Regions from separate parts of the Homo sapiens genome. Here region 1 is linked to region 2. The links are contacts of gene promoters, found by promoter capture Hi-C in human tissues and cell types (Jung and others, 2019). All regions are on one chromosome and are shown on one strand. The core of a region is centred on a gene start or on the middle of the fragment in contact, and the rest is flanking DNA. Distances in the headings are between cores, read along the strand shown.

The links. The method cuts DNA at HindIII sites, captures the fragments that hold promoters and counts their contacts. A contact is called where the count stands out against the background at its distance.
Region 1: a fragment that was not itself captured here is called in contact with the fragment with the promoter of APOBEC3H in region 2 in 3 of the 25 tissues and cell types used here (aorta, mesenchymal stem cells and spleen).

What each region holds. Positions count from the first base shown.
Region 1 is chr22:39,131,684-39,134,383 of GRCh38, reverse strand. CBX7 (chromobox 7) reads left to right here. Exons shown (of 6, transcript NM_175709.5): 6 at 336-2,700. The coding sequence ends at 493. Among named protein-coding and RNA genes, the nearest start is that of CBX7, 20 kb to the left of the region's middle. RefSeq lists enhancers at 1-72, 73-757, 2,397-2,700. The HindIII fragment of the contact is 4,160 bases long and covers 1-2,700 here.
Region 2 is chr22:39,095,865-39,098,564 of GRCh38, reverse strand. It overlaps APOBEC3H (apolipoprotein B mRNA editing enzyme catalytic subunit 3H), which reads right to left and starts at 1,321. Exons shown (of 5, transcript NM_181773.5): 1 at 1,222-1,321. RefSeq lists enhancers at 1-789, 1,120-1,459, 790-1,677, 1,000-2,199. The HindIII fragment of the contact is 18,686 bases long and covers 1-2,700 here.

The DNA.
Region 1 (2,700 bases), core at 79-2,578, 36 kb before region 2:
CAGAGACCCTCAGAGCTGGAAAGGGCCCTATGGGTCATAAGGTCCAGCTGGTTCAATGTCCAAAGAGGGCCTGTAGTGCTTTGTGGGGCCAGTCGGGTCTGGGCTCAGGGCCCAACACTAGCCCAGGGCTCCTCCTGTCGTCCCGCTCTGGCTGAGCTCTTGTCTAGGTGGGGAGGATGCACCCAGTGCCCTCCTCCCAAGTGTCCAGCCCTGTGTGAGGCCCTGAGCTGACTGAAGACACAGAGAGGAGGAGCTGGAGTTGGGGTCGGGTTGGGTGGTCTGCATGGCTTCCCACCTTGTCAACGCTGCCCCCATCTGTGTGTCTGACGCTGCAGCAGATGCCGACCTGGCCGAGGGGCCCCCTCCCTGGACACCTGCGCTCCCCTCAAGTGAGGTGACCGTGACCGACATCACCGCCAACTCCATCACCGTCACCTTCCGCGAGGCCCAGGCAGCTGAGGGCTTCTTCCGAGACCGCAGTGGGAAGTTCTGAATCACCGTTTTTACTCTTCTTAAACTGTTTTCTTTTGGGCTTGGGGTGGGACTTCCAGAGATAGGGATGGGTTGGGGGCGGGGTAATTATTTTATTTAAAAAAATACCGAGCAGCAAAAGGGGAGAAGATCCCACTACTCTCCCACCACCTGCCCTTTCTCTGAGGGACGTTTACCACGAGGCCTCAGGCTGGGGATGGAGAGAGTTGCTCTGGGAGTTGGGGTACCACCCCCAGGGCAGGATGGGGACAGGATCACCTGCCCGGGACACCACCATTATCATTCTCCTCTAGTGACGCAGCAGCTGGTTCTGGGAGTTAAAGGAGCATTGGAAGGCCCAAACCCTCTCCCTTGAGTGGCCACCCCAGCCTGGTTGGCTGGTTTTCCCCTTTTCTCTTGTTTCAATTGGGTCTTTACCTTGAACTCTCCTCTCTGGCTTTGCGGTGGGCTGTGGAGGCTGGTTTTGACCAAAAGTGAGTGGGGCGGGAGGAAGGGGCAGGAGGAAGGGTTGAGGTTACTTGGGGCGAGTCCCTTCCCCTTCAGAGAGGCTTCTATCCTTCCCAGGGAGGAGGCGCCGCTGAGACCCTTCTGCTGAGAGCTCTGCCCTCCCCTCATCACCTGGCCTGTGCAGAAACGCTCATGCACACCTGGCTGCACAGGTGTGCACGCATTACCCTTCGCGTGTACGTTCCCATGTGCCCCGTGAAAGCATGTGTGGCTGCAGACGTGTCCACATGGGCCTTGCGAACCTGGGTTAGAAACCCTGGCCAGGCGAACGTGGGGTGATTCACAGCACAAAAGACCTCACCACCACACCTGCACTCACCCCACCTTGCATGCACCTTGCTACCTGCTTGCGGCTTTCAGTGGAGGGCAGGGGTCTGGCACAGGTGCGATGGCACCCCATGCTCCAGGCATACAGATGTGGTTTCTCGGCTGCACCGGGCCAGGCTGCGGGTGTGCAGGCGTCTGCTAAGTTGTGTGATGTATCAGCACAGGCTTTGAGACGTCTGGACCCTGTCCTTCCTCCCGTGAGGGGTTCTTGTTCTTTCTGACTCAGGTGACTTTTCAGCCCTTCCAATTCCCCTCTTTTTCTGCCCTCCCCTCCAACTCAGCCAACCCAGGTGTGGGCAGTCAGGGAGGGAGGGAGTGTCCCACCACGTTCTCAGGGCAGCCCTTGACTCCTAAGCCCCTTCCTCCTTCCATTCTGCATCCCCTCCCCATCCAACCTAAATGCCACAGCTGGGGCTGAGCTGTATTCCTGTGGAGGGACCTCTGCCGTGCCTCTCTGAGGTCAGGCTGTGCTGTGTGATGGGCAGGCTTTGCCCCAGCCCACCCCTGGCAAGGTGCACTTGTTTTCTGGTTTGTACAAGGTGTCCTGGGGGCCCGTGGCTTCCCTGCCAGTGAGGAGTGACTTCTCCCTCTCTTCCAGTCCTGTAGGGGAGACAAAACCAGATTGGGGGGCCCAAGGGGAGCATGGAAAAGGCCGGCTCCCCTGTCTTTCCTTGGCTGTCAGAGTCAGGGTAACACACACCAAGAGTGGAGTGCGGCCAGCAAGTTTGAGACCTGCCCGCCCTCCTCGCAGCTCTGCTCTGTGTCCTCAGGAAGTCACAGAGTCTACTGAGGCAAGGAGAGGGTGATTCTTTCCCCAAATCCCTTCTTCCCTGGTTCCCAAACCAAAGACAGCCTGCAGCCCTTTCTGCATGGGGTGCTCTGTTGACAGGCTTCCCAGATCCCTGAGTCTCTCTTTCCTTCCTCCTCGATCTTTAGTTGTCCACGGTCAATTCAGTGCTTCCATTGGGGGACAGTCCCCTCCGGGATGACCTGATTCACCTCCAGCCCAGGGAATGGAATCTAGAGGAATACGTGGGGTGGGTCTGGACAAGGAGCGGCAGGAATCACCACCCATCTCCAGCTGTGGAGCCCTGTGGAGGGGAAGGGGAAGCTTGGGGTTCAGAGGGGACTCTTCCAGGAGAGGGGTGCCCAGCGGAGGTAAAGATGATAGAGGGTTGTGGGGGGTCTCTAGTTGAATGTTTTGGCCCATGACTTTGGAACATGGCTGGCAGCTTCCAGCAGAAGTCACGCTCCCCATCCCCCAGGGGACATAGGACCTTTTTCCTGCTTCCTGGTCACTTTCAAAGAACTATTTGCGCAATCTGTGGGTCTGTGGATTCACGGGGCTTTCTGTGTGGGTGCTGCAGTTGCTTT
Region 2 (2,700 bases), core at 72-2,571:
CTTCAAAATAAGAGCTCTTAATATTTCAGTTCAATTAATTCCTGGCATTTTACCTATTCATGTTATTTTATTTTATTTTTTTAGTTTTAGTAGATAAGGGGGTCTCCCTGTGTTGCCCAGGCTGGTTTGGAACTCCTGGCCTTTAGTGATGATCCTCCCCTCTCAGCTTCCCAAAGTGTTGGGATTACAGGCATGAGCCATTTTGCCTGGCCAGGCAGGAAAATGGCGTGAACCCAGGAGGTGGAGCTTGTAGTGAGCCGAGATTGCGCTCCAGCCTGGGCAACAGACTGAGACACCCCTTCTCAAAAAAACAAAACGAAACAAAAAATCAGGGTAGCACTTCCATCCCCAGGCCCAGGCCACTCTTCTAAGTGCTGAGAGGATCTGAGCTCACGTGAGGCTGCCCTAGGCCTGCAGGGGCCATTCTCATCTTACAGAGGAGGGGCCAGAGGTGCAGAGAGGTGGGGTAACCTGCCCAGGCCATGGAGCTGGGCCACTTTCCTGGCCAGCCCTGCCAGCCTCTGCATCACGGGCCCTGCAGGAGGGAGCCTTTGGGAACCAGGCTCTCTTCTTCCTAAATTTTAAAATAAAAGCATTTCTCCTGATCATTGAGTTTTTCCGTATATTCCGTGTTACTGGTGTCATTATAAACGGTGAATGTGAATACTGATCATGGAGGAGGAGTGTGTGTTCAGGGTCATCTGCATCCTCCTCTGCCCACAGTGGAGACATCCTTGGAAGAGATGATTTGCCTTGTGCTTCAGAGATCATTGCCTCCCCACACCCTCTCCTAAGACTTTGTATTGAAACAAAGTAATCTTACACAAAGTTCATCAAAGCACTGTGAACAAAATTCCAGATTGCTCCCATCATCCTTTAGTTCAGTTCTCCCAGTTCCAGAGCCCAGGAATGGCAGGAAGCACACAGAGAGAGCACCCTCCCAAGGTGGGGAGCACTAGCCCAGCCATGACTCTTAGGGGAGAGTCTCAGCAGGGGTCTTGGGCTGGTGCAGGCCGGGGAGGCGGCCCGTTCAGAAGCAGCAGTGGGGTGACCACACAGCAGGGCAAAGAGCCTGGGTGGGAGTGGGGATGGCAGGGGAGCCAGAGGAGAAGGAGCCCAGGGCTGGGGCTGGGGCAGCGGGAGGCCAGGGCTGAGGCACAGAAGGGCTGCCAGGCAGGAAGTGGCAGCAGAGGGCCCAGTGGACAGAGTGGGCGGCAGTACCTGATCTGTGCTTCTGGCCACAGCTTCCTTAGCAGACTTGCCCCTGCTTGTCTGAGGCACTAAGTTTCACTTTTGGCAGCTCTCCCAAAAGTCACAAAAGGTCAGCTCTCCCAAAAGTCACAAAAAGTCACTGCTTGATGAGGGTGGCTCCACCCTCTTCCTTTTGTGGGACTGGAGTGGGAGGGCCCTGGGGTGCTTCAGATCCCTCAGGCTCCTTTCTTTCTCTATTTCCTCGGGCTTGGCAGGGGAAGTCTGATGGAGGTGGCTCACCTCCCATCCTCCCACCCCCAATTCCCTCTCCAGGTACAGCCAGACTCAACTCCCTCCCCAGGTATAGTTTACAAAAGAACAAAGGCCAGATGCGGTGGCTCACACCTGTAATCCGAACACTTTGGGAGGCTGAGGTGGGCAAATTACAAGGTAAGGAGATGAAGACCATCCTGGCCAACATGGTGAAACCCCGTCTCTGCTAAAATACAAAAAATTAGCCAGGTTTGGTGGCCTGCGCCTGTAGTTCCAGCTGCTTGGGAGGCTGAGGCAGGGAAATTGCTTGAACCTTGGAGGCAGAGGTTGCAGTGAGCCGACGTCGCACCACTGCACTCCACCCTGGCAACAGAACGAGACCCTGTCTCAAAAAATAAATAAATAAATAAAAATAAAAAAGAAAGAAAAAAGAAAGGAATTGATGGCTGGTCACGGTGCCTGTTATCCCAGCACTTTGGGAGGCTGAGGCAGGTGGATTGCCTGAAGTCAGGAGTTCAAAATCAACCTGGCCAACCGCACTCCAGCCTGGGCAATAAGAACAAAACTCCGTCTCAAAAACTAAACTAAACTAAAATAAATGAAAGGAATAGAAGCCACAGAAAGGAGCAGGGATCCAGACCAGGGCTGACACCATAGACCAGATGCCACTCCCCTGGTGGACAGGGCAGGCTGCAGCCCCCTCCCCACCACCCCACTGACCTTTGGCATTCAGCCTCCTGGCAGGACCCTGAGCCTGATGTGAAATGAGCACTGGGGTCAGGCTCAGGACTGCATCTCCAGCGGATCCAGTGCCCATTATCTAGCCCAGTCCCCAGATAGCACTGGGAGGGGAGGGCAGTGATCCTGACAGTCAGAGGAGGTCCCAAGCACAGAGAGGCTAAGATACTGTCCCCACGTCACACAGCAAATCAACAGCAGAGCTGGAGTGCTGGCCAGGACTTCCTGTGTCCCTTCTCCCCCACAGCTAGCTACTTTGAGGTTCTTCATTGCTCCATGGAAAGGAGCAGGAGAGGAGACACGAGGGAGGGGACTTACTGCTCCTAAAGGGCCTCCCAGGTCAGAGATGAAGGACCTGGACTTCACATTTGCATTCTGGAACCCATGTCCTCGTCTTCATGCATATCAACCAACACCCTTCAGATCATAAACACCAAAGAGCCAGGCCAGGTGCTGTGGCTCACGCCTGTAATCCCAGCACTTCGGGAGGCTCAGGCA